5 separate regions of the Homo sapiens genome follow, and all the other regions are linked to region 1. The links are contacts of gene promoters, found by promoter capture Hi-C in blood cells and fetal thymus (Javierre and others, 2016). All regions are on one chromosome and are shown on one strand. Each heading gives the region's core, a stretch centred on a gene start or on the middle of the fragment in contact. The rest is flanking DNA. Distances are from core to core; before and after follow the strand shown. Region 1 holds the start of DUSP16 (dual specificity phosphatase 16). Region 2 has its middle 19 kb from the start of MIR613. Region 3 overlaps CDKN1B (cyclin dependent kinase inhibitor 1B). Region 4 overlaps BORCS5 (BLOC-1 related complex subunit 5). Region 5 overlaps MANSC1 (MANSC domain containing 1).

The links. Contacts are between HindIII fragments. The CHiCAGO score rates a contact against its expected background, and 5 or more counts as called.
Region 2: a fragment that was not itself captured here is called in contact with the fragment with the promoter of DUSP16 in region 1 in 3 of 17 cell types (naive CD8 T cells, non-activated CD4 T cells and total CD8 T cells); the score reaches 6.2 in naive CD8 T cells.
Region 3: a fragment that was not itself captured here is called in contact with the fragment with the promoter of DUSP16 in region 1 in 1 of 17 cell types (naive CD8 T cells); the score reaches 5.6 in naive CD8 T cells.
Region 4: a fragment that was not itself captured here is called in contact with the fragment with the promoter of DUSP16 in region 1 in 17 of 17 cell types (naive CD4 T cells, non-activated CD4 T cells, total CD8 T cells and 14 more); the score reaches 21.3 in naive CD4 T cells.
Region 5: a fragment that was not itself captured here is called in contact with the fragment with the promoter of DUSP16 in region 1 in 2 of 17 cell types (total CD8 T cells and neutrophils); the score reaches 6.3 in total CD8 T cells.

Annotation. Positions count from the first base shown.
Region 1 is chr12:12,561,613-12,564,312 of GRCh38, forward strand. DUSP16 (dual specificity phosphatase 16) reads right to left here and starts at 1,251. Exons shown (of 7, transcript NM_030640.3): 1 at 505-1,251. RefSeq lists silencers at 151-350, 371-490, 521-600, 1,051-1,560. The HindIII fragment of the contact is 13,074 bases long and covers 1-2,700 here.
Region 2 is chr12:12,743,978-12,746,677 of GRCh38, forward strand. It overlaps a transcript of APOLD1 not described here. Among named protein-coding and RNA genes, the nearest start is that of MIR613, 19 kb to the right of the region's middle. The HindIII fragment of the contact is 644 bases long and covers 1,001-1,644 here.
Region 3 is chr12:12,719,113-12,721,812 of GRCh38, forward strand. It overlaps CDKN1B (cyclin dependent kinase inhibitor 1B), which reads left to right. Exons shown (of 3, transcript NM_004064.5): 3 at 1,924-2,700. Among named protein-coding and RNA genes, the nearest start is that of CDKN1B, 3.1 kb to the left of the region's middle. RefSeq lists enhancers at 310-389, 460-509. The HindIII fragment of the contact is 2,899 bases long and covers 1-2,700 here.
Region 4 is chr12:12,380,058-12,382,757 of GRCh38, forward strand. All of the region lies in intron 2 of BORCS5 (BLOC-1 related complex subunit 5), which reads left to right. Among named protein-coding and RNA genes, the nearest start is that of BORCS5, 24 kb to the left of the region's middle. RefSeq lists an enhancer at 1,138-1,432. The HindIII fragment of the contact is 7,704 bases long and covers 1-2,700 here.
Region 5 is chr12:12,326,765-12,329,464 of GRCh38, forward strand. It overlaps MANSC1 (MANSC domain containing 1), which reads right to left. Exons shown (of 4, transcript NM_018050.4): 4 at 1-2,700. Among named protein-coding and RNA genes, the nearest start is that of MANSC1, 22 kb to the right of the region's middle. The HindIII fragment of the contact is 859 bases long and covers 969-1,827 here.

The DNA.
Region 1 (2,700 bases), core at 1-2,500:
CCGTCACCACCCAGGTGGCCTCGCTGCTTACACCAAAGGCGAACTGGGGATAATGGGAACAGTCAGGCCAGGGCCCCACTTGGCAGGCGTGTTGTGTAACAGTCGCGCCTGGAAGTGAGCAGCTTCGCCCGCAAAGGTGCCGCGTCCCGCGGCGGCCGCTCCTCTCGGCGGGGCCCGGTCCAAGCGCCGCGCAGCGGCCGGGAGCGCACCCACTGCGACCCCGCGCCCGGCCGCACGCCCCCTTCCCGCTCCGGCCAGCCTCCGGCCAGGCCTACACCCCCGCTTCAAACGCTCCTGCGGCCCCCGGCCGCGGTCGCCCCCACGCCGCCTCCCGAAAGGGTGGCCGGTACGCCCGGGAAGGCAGAGACGGCGGGGCTGGAGCGCGGCGCCCGGCACCGGGAGTCGGGGCGCGCTGCGGAGCGTCCATGCGGCCGGGCGGGAGGGCGCCCCGGGCCCCGCACCCTCCCGCCCGCACACCCCGCGCGGCCCGCCAAGGCCACTTACTTTTGGGGCCGCCGACCTCCCAATTCCCTCAGAGGGAAACGAAAGTTGTCACGGCGTCTCCCCTCGGGCCCCCCTCGCCTCCCGGACTTGCGAGGCGCCGCCGCGGAGCCGAGAGGGCGGCTGCGCTCCCGCTCGCGTCCCGTCCCGTCGCTCTCCTCCTCCTCTTCTTTTCAGTATATTATCTTCTCCTTCTCTGAGGGGTGGGTTGGGGCGGGAGGCTTAGGAAGAGAGGAGACGCTCGCAACTTTTCTTCACTCTTTCTCTTCCACCCTCCCCCCCATCAGCCTTCAAAAAAAATGTCGAAAGAGATGAAGAACTTAGGGAGGTAAAGGTGGGGGGCCGCGTTGTGAAAGTGGGGGTTGGGGGGGAGAGAGAGGTGGTAATAATCGTTTAAAAACTGATTAAAGCCCCCCAAACACTGATACATAGAAAGAGGGGGAAAGGCGGGGGGGTGGGGTGGGGGGTTGGGGGAAAGAGAAAGAGTCGCTGGTCAGGAAACTTCAAGCGCGGATGAGGTCATTGGTTTAAAAATAAAGAGATGGCGTCACTTGAAACCAATCCCAGTGAATGAACTCAGCGGAGCCCCGGGGAAAGGAGGAGACAGGCGAGGGCAGGGCGGTGGGCGCCGGGCGGGGCCGCGCGCTCGCCCATCCCGCGGCCGCCCGAGCCCGGAGCGCGGCTCCGCGCCTCGTTCCGGCCGCTCGGGGAGGGGTCAGGTCATGTTCCCTTCCAGAGTCCGGCGACTCTGAGGCAGGTTCCGCGGGCGCCGCTGGGAGGAGCCGGAGCTGCCGGAGGAGGCGGCCCCGCGGCCTCCTCCCCCACCTCTCCCTCCTCCTCCTCCTCCTCCCGCGCCCGCGCGCCCGCCCCCTACCCCCGGGCTCGCGGCCCCGACCCCCGGGCCGGGGTGTCCGCCTCCAGTGCTGCGCCCCAACAGGTATCGGAGGGTTTTCTCCCTCACCCAGACGCAGAACCTTTCCCTCCTCCTTGAGCTGTTTCCAGCTGCCTCACCAACGTCAAAAAACGCAAACACTGATTTGAGAGAATTACACTCGCTCTGTAAAAAGTCTGGCGAATGCAAAAGGCAAGGCTCTGCCATCTCTCAGGAGAGAAGTTACAGGTACTTCAAGAAAAATCACACTACTGTTGTCAGGCATTCAGCTATCTATATGTTTATGGTTGAAAGCCCCCACATAAATGTTCCTACATTACTTTACTTTGCTTATATTTACAAATACAAGGATAAGCAGCCTACATTTTCTTTAAAAATGTTTTCTACAGGAGGCAGCGCAGAAACATCTTTAAATAAGACCAGGGGTTAACCGCCTCTTGAGAGGTACAAAACCCTTGTTGATTTAACTCCACATACCTCGTGCATTTTATTATTTGAATTCATTAAAATGTCTGTTTTGAGATGACATTATGCACTTTGGAAAACGAGAGACCTGAGGTGGTGACAAACCAGGACTTGGAATCACTGAATAGGACAATCGGAGCTTTATTCCAATGTTCTTTGAGCATTTGAGCATGAAGCTGCTTCTACTGAGAAGTACTCACGTGGATATCACATAACAAAGATGTGATTAATGACGGAAAAGCACCCTGCGAGTGGACTGCTCCATGAGCCAGAATTTATGTGTAGGAATAATCTAACTCTTCAAATATTCCATTTACAATGTGCCGGATTGGGACACTAGACCCTAAAGGCACTGTTTGCTGTGGGATATCCATGTGCACCCTGCCTAAAGCACGTTTTTCCACTAGCAAAAGAACTGATAAGCAGGTTTGGGTGGGTTCGAAAGATAATACACCCCTGTTACTACTTTTCTGCCTTTAAGTCCTGCAACTAAAGGCATTCCTTATGATTGGTAATCATTGAAGGTTAGTGTTGCGGGGTATGGCCCTGGGAACTTCTGGCCCATCTTTTATAGGAGGGAAAAAAAAAGCCCATTTGAAGATGGGAGGCACCCTAGCACCTCTGGCAGTAGTAGGTAAAGCCTGAAGGCCACAGATGGAGAAGCAACTTTGAGCCTGTGCCTCTGGCCTCTTGAAGACTTTGCTAGGGGAAGCAAATCTCTCCCACTGCTCCCTGTCCTCTGGTGGCCAGGAGGTGTTACTGCAGCTTCCTTGGGATTATTTGTGCTCTACCAGGAAACCCCTAAAAATCTAACTGTAGACCTTTGTTGGAGGTGTTGGGAT
Region 2 (2,700 bases), core at 73-2,572, 180 kb after region 1:
GTGAGACCCATGTTAGACTTCTAGCACACAGTACTGCAAGATATTAAATTGATGATGGCTGGGCGTGGTGGCTCATGCCTGTAATCCCAACACTTTGGGAGGCTGAGGCTGGTGGATCACTTGAGGTCAGGAGTTTGAGACCAGCCTGGGGAACATAGCAAGACTGCGTTTCTACTAATAAAAAATTAGCAAGGAACGGTGTGCACCTGTAGTCCCAGCTACTCGGGAGGCTGAGGCAGGAGGATCACTTGAGCCTAGGAGATCAAGGCTGCAGTGAGCTATGATGGCACCACTGTACTCCAGCCTGGGCAATAGAGCCAGACCCTGCTTAAAAAAAAAAAAAAAAAATGGCTGGCTGTGGTGGCTCAGGTCTGTAATCCCAGCACTGTGGGCGGCTGAGGTGGGCAGATCACCTGAGGTCAGGAGTTCGAGACCAGCCTGGCTAACATGGTGAAACCCCATCTCTACTAAAATTACAAAAATTAACTGGGCCTGGTGGTGCACACCTGTAATCCCAGCTACTCAGGAGGCTGAGGCAGGAGAATCGCTTGAACCTGGGAGGCGGAGGTTGCAGTGAACAGAGATCGCACCACTGCACTCCATATCAAAAAACAAAGAACTGCTTGGTTTCTGATTTCTCAGCTCTCAACTCTAGGCAGGTGATTTATTTGTCCACTTAAGAGATGGGAATTGGACACTGCCGCTGGGATCAGTTCTGATCCTGACTATAAATTTCCGGGGTGCTCTGCCTTAGAACTTGGTTTATTGCCTATTAAGCTGCTTTCCTGTTGCCTGTGCTCAGTGTCTGTCTGGCTCCTGGCCTCCTCTTGCCAGGTGATTTGGCCTCATTCTGAACCTGTTTTATGTAGAGTGTCTGTCTGCCCGACTTCATGGGGCAGATCACAGAACAAGATCCCTGTGCCACGATCTGCTTTCCCTTCACCAAATATCACTATGAACTTGTGCCTACCTGGATCCCATACTTGCTTCACCCTGACAAAGCTTTTTCTTCTCTCTACTTCTGGCCTGCTTTGAATTTATTGTTTTATGCCTGTGTGTTAGAGGGAAAAATGTATTAAAATAATGTACTGGCAATACCTCCCTTCCTGTCTAAAAAAAGTGAATGCTTTGTGTACTCATCTCCCTAGAGGGCCTTTGTTGAATTAAGCAGGGTGATTGGCTGTGAGGAGAATTAAAAGGCAGAGAGAAGACCAAATTGCTCTACCCAACACAAAATGAGGAGATATTTGAAAGAGAATTTTACAAGGAGAAGACTGAAGAAGGCCGGGCGAGGTGGCACACGCCTGTAATCCCAGTACTTTGGGAAGTTGAGGCGGGTGGATCACCTGAGGTCAGGAGTTCGTGACCAGCCTGGCCACTAAACTCTACTAAAAATACAAAAACTAGCTGGGCCTGGTGGCAGGTGCTTGTAATCCTAGCTACTCTGGAGGCTGAGGCTGGAGAATCGGTTGAATCAGGGAGGTGGAAGTTGCGGTGGGCCAATATCGTGCCACTGCGCTCCAGCCTATGCAATAGAGCGAGACTGTCTCAGAAAAGAAAAGACTGAAGAGAAGAGGAAGGAGACATAAGTGAGCTGTACAATTTTTGAGCAAAGAAAGAAACCCAAAGAATATTTTAATGGAAAGCTTCCTATATTGCGTGTAGTGTAACATTCTCTTTGCCTCTCTAAGCATCCAGTACACGTTGAATTTGTGGTAGATTAGGTGTATTAAGTGCTGAGATTGGCCTCAAGGCAAGGGCAGGATGACTCAGAATAGCACAAATAGTTTCAGGTGGGAAGGGGGAGGAAAAAGGGAAGCAAAAGGCAAGGAAAATGCCAAGTGGTCTTGCCTACAGCAGATCTTTCAGCCCGCATGCTTGCTCTGTACTTGGAATTCTCTAGAAAGGTTGCAAGAAGAAGCTGCACTCCAGAGTAGTCTGAGAAAGGGATCAGGAAGAGGGCATTTATCTGCCAGCTCCCTCCTGTCTCCATTTTTTGTGGCTGAGGTTCACACTACTTAGCAGAGCTAAATCCCCTGAATGCCATGTGGTGTCATCTGGCAGCTCCGTGATCACTCAGGAAATTAATTTTACGCCTTGCAGTGTGGCTATTTCATCCGAGTCTGGAAGTGAGGAGTGACCAAGAGAGAACAAAAGGAAGGGTGGTGGGAATCCAAGAAGGCTTAAAACGTATGTCTCTGTAGTTGAGAAAAGGTTTTACTTAAATCCTGTTCCAGGCCGGGTGCAGTGGCTCACGCCTGTAATCCCAGCACTTCGGGAAGCCGAGGCGGGTGGGTCACCTGAGGTCAGGAGTTCGAGACCAACCTGGCCAACATGGTGAAACCCTGTCTCTACATAAAATACAAACATTAGCTGCGTGTGGTGGCAGATGCCTGTAATCCCAGCTACTCAGGAGGCTGAGGCAGGAGAATCGCTTGAACCTGGGAGACGGAGGTTGCAGTGAGCCGAGATCGCACCACTGCACTCCAGCCTGGGCAACAAGAGTGAAACTCCATCTCAAATAAATAAATAAATAAATACATAAATACATACATACATATTGCTCCAAATGGTGAACATGTGCATGACTACGTGTATGAACTCTGATGTCTTCATAAAGAATTTTAAAAAACTATTGGAAAACATGGGAAAACATGCTCTAATTTTTTTTAAATTTCATATTCAGGGAGGTACATGCAC
Region 3 (2,700 bases), core at 130-2,629, 160 kb after region 1:
CGGTAATTCCTCAGAGTTTCTATGCCCAGAGATACTTTCTCTTCAAACTGTTGACCAGAGCAGCTACTTGTAACCCAGGCCCCATCGGGTAGGAAGGTCGTTTCCCTGTGAGTCCCACTAAAACGTGTTGGGAGCAATAGGTTCTTTGCCCATCCGAACAAGAACTAGGGTACTCCCTCAGTCCGAATTAATGAGAATTAATTTCCTAGAGGTTCAGCTTGAGTCGGTAACAGATTTTGAGCCATACATGGAAAAATGGCAAATACATGATTAAGTTTCAATTTTGAGGGGGAATGTTTGGTAGAAATTGCTCATCTTTGGTTATGCAAGGGATTAGAGATGTGAATAGGATGGTATGTTGTGTTCTTTGACATTTTAATAAACTGTCACTTTCCCTGTTGTCTCCTAAGTTTGGAGAGAGAAGGAACCAGTATTTGCAAAAACCAAATGGAAAGATAAAAAAGTTACTAAAGTTTCTACAGAATTTCTGGTAACACTGAAGTTGCAAAGCAGAAGTTAAATTAACTCTTGTCAGTAAGCAATCCAGGAACACGTCAGCCAGTGTATGCTAATTGTGCCGTAACAGGGTGATTTGGATATTTGTAGGGGAAATGGGTAGTAAATATCAAGACTGGTGACCGTAGGTCAGCCCAGCACAAAGGAAGTGGAGATTTTTCCATGCACAAGAATCTGATCACTGTAAATAGCTAATTTGAATAATTCAGTCCCCAGATAACCAACATGGGTTGGTTATTCATAATAAACTACATATTTTAATAGTTTATTAGCTTCCTTTAGACCAAGACTGTGACCTCTTTATTTTCTAAAGCACACACGTAGTTTAGCATATGAGGCGATAAAATATTGATGTTAACTTTTTAAATCCCCAGTTATAAAAATTTTAAAATAACAGGGATTAAGGTGAGATTCAGGTTTGTTGTGTCTTTAAATTGTATATGTGACTTCACATATCTTTTTCAGCGCTTATACAAAACGGCACTATAGAACCTCCATTTTACAGCACCATATGAAGTGGGAAAATTAGGTGAAAATTTTCCTGAAGCAACCTTAACATGCGCAGCCCTTGTTGGTTTGTGACTTGTGGCCTAGCTCATCAGATGAGCCACGAGAATCAGACCTGGATTTTGATCTGGCCCTGTTCTGACATGCAATGAGGCATTTGTAGGATTTAGTAATATTGCTAGTTCAAAGAATACTAGAAATATTAGTAAGAACCTATTCAAAAGTATTCATGAGTATTTTCTGCATATGAATCAGGAATTAGAATATTTTGAAAATGATGTTAATAAAATTTTCCTCTGGAAGGCCTTTATAATTTTTATTCCCAATCATTTTTCAAATTTAGAAAGTTTAATCTGTCACAGGAGAAAAAAAATTAAAAATTTTCAAAAATTTAGAAAATTTTTACCCGTAAGTATTACAGTTTCCTAATTATCCTATTTATTTCCCACTTGCCTTTGACCTAGATTATTTAGAGTAGGGTTTCTCAGCCTCTGCACTAATGACATTTTGGGCCGAATAATTCTGTTGTAGGAGGCTGTCCTGTGTGTTTTAGATTGTTTGGAATTATCCCTGGCCTCTCACACTAGATGCCAGCAGTATCCTCCTCCCCCAGTGTGACAACCTAAAATGTCTCCAGACATTGCCAAATGTTCCCTGTGGGGCGGGGGCAACATTGCCTACTGTTAAGAACTACTGCTCTAGACCAAAGAACACAGCACAGAGGAAAGGAAAAAAAAATCCAGTTAAGAGAATGTTAGGTGGAGATGACTATAGTCATCAAACTTTTTTCCCCATCAAGTATTTCCAAGCTAACATAGTGACAAAATAATTCCTGTACTCTACTGGTAACGTTAATCTAGTGCTCTTCCTTTAATTCTTCCGTTTTGTTTTCTTTTGCAGAATTAAGAATATGTTTCCTTGTTTATCAGATACATCACTGCTTGATGAAGCAAGGAAGATATACATGAAAATTTTAAAAATACATATCGCTGACTTCATGGAATGGACATCCTGTATAAGCACTGAAAAACAACAACACAATAACACTAAAATTTTAGGCACTCTTAAATGATCTGCCTCTAAAAGCGTTGGATGTAGCATTATGCAATTAGGTTTTTCCTTATTTGCTTCATTGTACTACCTGTGTATATAGTTTTTACCTTTTATGTAGCACATAAACTTTGGGGAAGGGAGGGCAGGGTGGGGCTGAGGAACTGACGTGGAGCGGGGTATGAAGAGCTTGCTTTGATTTACAGCAAGTAGATAAATATTTGACTTGCATGAAGAGAAGCAATTTTGGGGAAGGGTTTGAATTGTTTTCTTTAAAGATGTAATGTCCCTTTCAGAGACAGCTGATACTTCATTTAAAAAAATCACAAAAATTTGAACACTGGCTAAAGATAATTGCTATTTATTTTTACAAGAAGTTTATTCTCATTTGGGAGATCTGGTGATCTCCCAAGCTATCTAAAGTTTGTTAGATAGCTGCATGTGGCTTTTTTAAAAAAGCAACAGAAACCTATCCTCACTGCCCTCCCCAGTCTCTCTTAAAGTTGGAATTTACCAGTTAATTACTCAGCAGAATGGTGATCACTCCAGGTAGTTTGGGGCAAAAATCCGAGGTGCTTGGGAGTTTTGAATGTTAAGAATTGACCATCTGCTTTTATTAAATTTGTT
Region 4 (2,700 bases), core at 76-2,575, 180 kb before region 1:
ATGATTGGTCCGTGAAGCAGTCAGAGCACATGCAACACTTCTCAGTTTAAGTTTCCTGTTTTCTATGGGTGTGGTTTGTGGTGCCCAAAACAATTACAATAGTGACATCAAAGATCACTGATCACAGATCACCATGACAGATATCATAATAATGGAAGTTTGAAATATTGCAAGAATTACCAAAATGTGACAGACATGAAGTAAGCACCCTGCCACAAATCTTCAATTTGTAAAAAAAAACACAGTATCTGTGAAGCACAATTTAAAAAAAATTTGAAGTGGAATAGAATGAGGTGTGCCTATATATGGAAGATGGCTTGATCTAATCAGAGATAAAAAGAGATGAATGAGGACCATATCAAAATTATTTCCAGTTTGCAGTTAATTCTGCTCCCAGTCTCCAGTCCTAGGCAACCACAGGCCAGCTTTTCTGGACACTTCATCTAAATGGAATCATACAATACATACTCTTTTGAGTCTGACTTCCAGTTTTTGCCTGTTATGAATAATGCTGCTATGAACCTTTGTGACCATGTGTTCATGTGAATGTGTTTTTATTTCTTTTGGGTGGATTCTTAGGAACGGAATTGGTAGGTTGTATGGTAACTTTGTGTTTACTTTTACGAAACTGCCAAACTTTTTTCAAAATTACCATTTTACATTCCTTCCAGCAATGTATGAGAATTCAGTATTCTCTTTATTTCTGATTATAGCCATCAGAGTGGTTGTGTAGTGGTATCTCATTATGGTTTACATTTACATTTCTCTAATGATGTTGAGATTATTTTTGTGTGCTTGAAATACCTGTTCAAATCTCTTATCCATTTTTAAATTGGGTTTTTAACTTATATTGTATTATAACAAGTTCTTTATTCTGGATACAATCTCTTAATCAGATATATGATTTGCAGTATTTTCTCCCAGACTGTGACTTTCTTTTCATTTTTTGGGGGATTTTTTTTTTTTTTTTTTGAGACCGAGTCTCACTCTGTCGCCCAGGCTGGAGTGCACTGGCGCGATCTCAGCTCACTGCAAACTCCACCTCCTGGGTTCAAGCAGTTCTCCTGCCTTAGCCTCCCAGGTAGCTGGGATTACGGGTGCCTGGCTCATTTTTGTGTTTTTAGTAGAGACAGGCTTTCACCATGTTGGCCAGGCTGGTCTGGAACTTCTGACCTGGCTGATATTTTTTGAAGTACAACTTTTTTAATCTTGATGAAGTTCAGTGTATCAATATTTTTAATAAAGATTTCTCCTAGAAGTTTTATAGTTTTAGTGATTGCATTTAGGCCTGTGATCCTTTTTGGATTACTTTGTGTGTGTTGTGTAAAGGTCTAAGTTCATTTTGCTTTGTTTGTTTGCTTGTGGTATCCAGTTGACCCTGTACCATATGTTGAAAAGATTGTGTTTTCCCTTATTGAATTATCTCAGCACCTTTAAAAAATGACCATAAATGTAAGGGTTTATTTCTGGACTCTTAGGTCTGTTCCATTGATCTGTCCCATTTTTAATTTCGTGGATTGTACTTTGGTGTTGTATCTAAAAAGTCATCACCAAATCCATGCTTACCTAGATTTTCTCTTGTATTACTGCTTAGGACTTTCATAGTTTTGCATTTTACATTTAGGTCTGCGATCCATTTTGACTTAATTTTTGTGAAAGGTATAAACCATATGTGCTTTTAAAGACTATATAGTCTGCAGTCATTGGGTAGAGAGTTTTATATATGTCAGTTATGTTGGTTGATAGTGTTTTTTGAGTTTTGTATATTCTTACTGATTTTGTCTTTAGTTTTATCAATTGAGAGTGAGGTACTGAATTATTAACCTGTTTTGTTGAATTGTGTATTTTTCCTTTTGATTCTGTCAGTTTTTCCTTCATTTGTTTTGAGGATATGTTGCTGGTGTGGATACATTTAGAATTATTATATCTTCATGATGTAACAACTTTCATCATTATGAAACACCGTTCTCTAATATTACTCTCTGTCTTTATTTCTATTTTATCTAATATTAATAGAGCCATTTGTGTTAGTCCACTTTGAGTTGCTATAAAGGAATACCCGAGGCTGGGTAATTTATAAAGAAGAGAGGTTTATTTGGCTCACAGTTCTGCAAGCTGTATAAGAAGTGTGGCACCAGCATCTGCTTCTGGTAAGGACCTCAGAAAACTTTCAATCATGGAGGAAGGTGAAGGAGGAGCAGGCATGTCACATGGTAAGAGAGGGAGACAGAGGTGGGGGAGGTGCCACACTCCTTTAAACAACCAGTTCTCCCATAAACTAATAGAGGGAGACTTGCTCGGTACTACAGGGAGGCACCAAGCCATTCTTGAGGGATCTGCTCTTATGACTCATACATCTCCCACTAGACCCCACCTCCAACATTAGGGGCCACATTTTAACATGAGATTTGGAGGGGACAAGTATCCAAATGATATCACTATTCTGTCTTTCTTATGGTTCTATGATGGTATATATCTTTTTTTTTTTTTTTTTTGAGACAAAGTCTTGCTCGACAGGCTGCTGAAGTGCAGTGGCGCGATCTCAGTTTCCTGCAACCTCTGCCTCCTGGGTTCAAGTGATTTTCCTGCCTCAGCCTCCCAAGTAGCTGGGATTACAGGCGCGTGCCAGCATGCCTGTCTAATTTTTGTATTTTTAGTAGAGATAGGGTTTTGCCATGTTGGCCGGGCTGGTTTCGAACT
Region 5 (2,700 bases), core at 148-2,647, 230 kb before region 1:
ATGTGAGCCACTATGTGCCTGGCTAAGAGTAGCTTATTTTTATTTTATTTTATTTTATTTTTTTGAGATAGAGTCTTGCTCTGTCGCCTAGGCTGGAGTGCAATGGAGCGATCTTGGCTCACTGCAACCGCCCCCTCCCGGCCTCAAGCAATTATCCTACCTCAGCCTCCCAAGTAGCTGGGATTACAGGTGTCTGCCACCATGCCTGGCTAATTTTTGTATTTCTGTAGAGATGGGGTTTCACCATGTTGGCCAGGCTGGTCTAGAACTCCTGACCTCAGGTGATCCACCCACCTTGGACTCCCAAAGTGCTGGGATTACAGGCGTGAGCCACCACGCCTGGCCAAGAGTAGCTTTTTAACCTAGGTCAGTATCGTGTTGGTAAAATACGGAGAGAGGATGTTTGAGCAGAAGGACCTACCTCATCTTCTCACCTGTTCTAGGCTGCTACCTTCTCTTTCTACAAACCAAAGGAGGGGGCTCATAACTCAATGGGCCTTGTGGGAAAGGCTAACCAGACTAGTCACTGCTGAATTCCTCTAAGGGATTCCCCTACCCTGACTGCCCTTGCCACAGTTGCACCCACCATCCTAGGGGCAGTAAGTAGAGAGAGCTGTGTGAGAAGAGCACTCTTTCCACTCCAGATGTCCCCTACAACCTATATCCTCACGGCCACTAACAGTTTGGGCCCGTAGCATCACTCATCTGGACCGCTCCCATGTGGTCTCCCCATCACAACAAAGACTGCAGCAAGGTGGACAGAGAACTCCAAGAGAGCCAGGAAAATACCTTTATAAACCATCACAGAAAGCCTGATTTCCACTCGCTAAATCCATTAATAAAGAGAGGAGAAATTTTAAAATTCCAAGGCACCTGGTTACTAATCTGATTCTGGCCTACATGTGGATATTCAATAAATACTTGTTAAGTTAAATTGACTCAAGGTTTTATTTATTCAGCCTACTTAAAGCTTATGTAAACCCCTTGGAGATTTGTGTCAAGCTGTTAAGTTGGAAAATATAAGAAAAGTAGTATTTTCAATAGACCAGCTTTCCTCTTAATGTACTTTATGAACTTAGTGTAAACCAGGGAAATGGGGGAGGGGTACCAGAAGAGCAGAGGGGAAGGAGGTGAGGAGGAAGGAAGAGGTGAGGAGGAAGGAGAAGAAAAGCCTTTTCTGTCATTTCCTGCATTTGTCTTAATTGCTGTACTTATTAACCAGCTACTGCCCTCTAGTGCTCACTGTATTAAGTTCGCATCTGAATTCCATTTTTATCTTTAAAAACTCTGGTGACACTTGGAAGGGATCAAATTTCCTGTTTTGCAGATAAGCAAATTGAAGTCCAGAGGAAAGAGGTATCAAACTGACCCAGGGGACTTCTGGACTCTTTGTTACCTCACCTATAACTTGTCTGGAAAACTTTATTAAAAGCCTTTCTCAGAAATTTTAATTGGTAACCAGTAAAAATTGTAGCATCATGTTAGTGCTAGTTATTATTATTATTATTTTTGAGACGGAGTCTGGCTCTGTTGCCCAGGCTGGAGCGCAATGGTGCAATCTGGCTCACCGCAACCTCCGCCTCCTGGATTCAAACTACTCTCCTGCCTCAGCCTCCCAAGTAGCTGGAACTACAGGCGCCCGCCACCACGCCCGGCTAATTTTTTGTATTTTTAGTAGAGGCGGGGTTTCACCGTGTTAGCCAGGATGGTCTCGATCTCCTGACCTCGTGATTTGCCCATCTCGGCCTCCCAAAGTGCTGGGATTACAGGCGTGAGCCACCGCGCCTGGCCTGTGCTAGTTATTATTTCCAATGTTGTTCTAAATTAAGCTTAGACTGATTGCTGGTCAATTTAAGTAAGGATATAAAATAATAGTGGTACATTTTTAACTTAGTACAAGTTTAGAAAATGTCTATAATACTTCTTTAAAAAGTTAACTAGAGGCCGGGCACGGTGGCTCACGCCTGTAATCCCAGCACTTTGGGAGGCCGAGGCGGGCGGATCACAAGGTCAGGAGATCGAGACCATCCTGACTAACACAGTGAAACCCCGTCTTTACTAAAAATATAAAAAATTAGCTGGGCGTGTTGGCGGGCGCCTGTAGTCCCAGCTACTTGGGAGGCTGAGGCAGGAGAATGGCGGGAACCCAGGAGGCGGAGCTGGCAGTGAGCCGAGATCGCGCCACTGCACTCTAGCCTGGGTGACAGAGCAAGACTCTGTCACACACACACACACACACACACACACACACACACACACACAAGTTAACTAGAACAGATCCCAAGTGGATATGGCCATTTATCAGAACTGACTTATCATTGTCTCCATGTGGGCTAACATTCCGCTAGATTCTCCCAAGTGAAGCTCTTTGCTCACTGATGGGAAAAAGGGGGGGTTGTCATTTTAACGTGGAACGCATATTTTCACCACATAATCATTTTGCTAGTGGAAATAAATGGAAAGTTATCCAGCTGGACATGCTACTTATGAGAACACTACTGAGTAACAAAAGATTTATTCAAATATTTAATTGGAAGGAACTACATCTGGAATAAGTTTTAAAGGAATCCATATAAAAAGAAAAGCAAATCCATTAGAAATTGATATAAACAGTTGATTTTATCTGGAACCAAGAATGTGAATGAATTGGAACCTAGATGTCCTAACCTGTTTCTTTGCATAAAAGCCAGTTGAATTTTG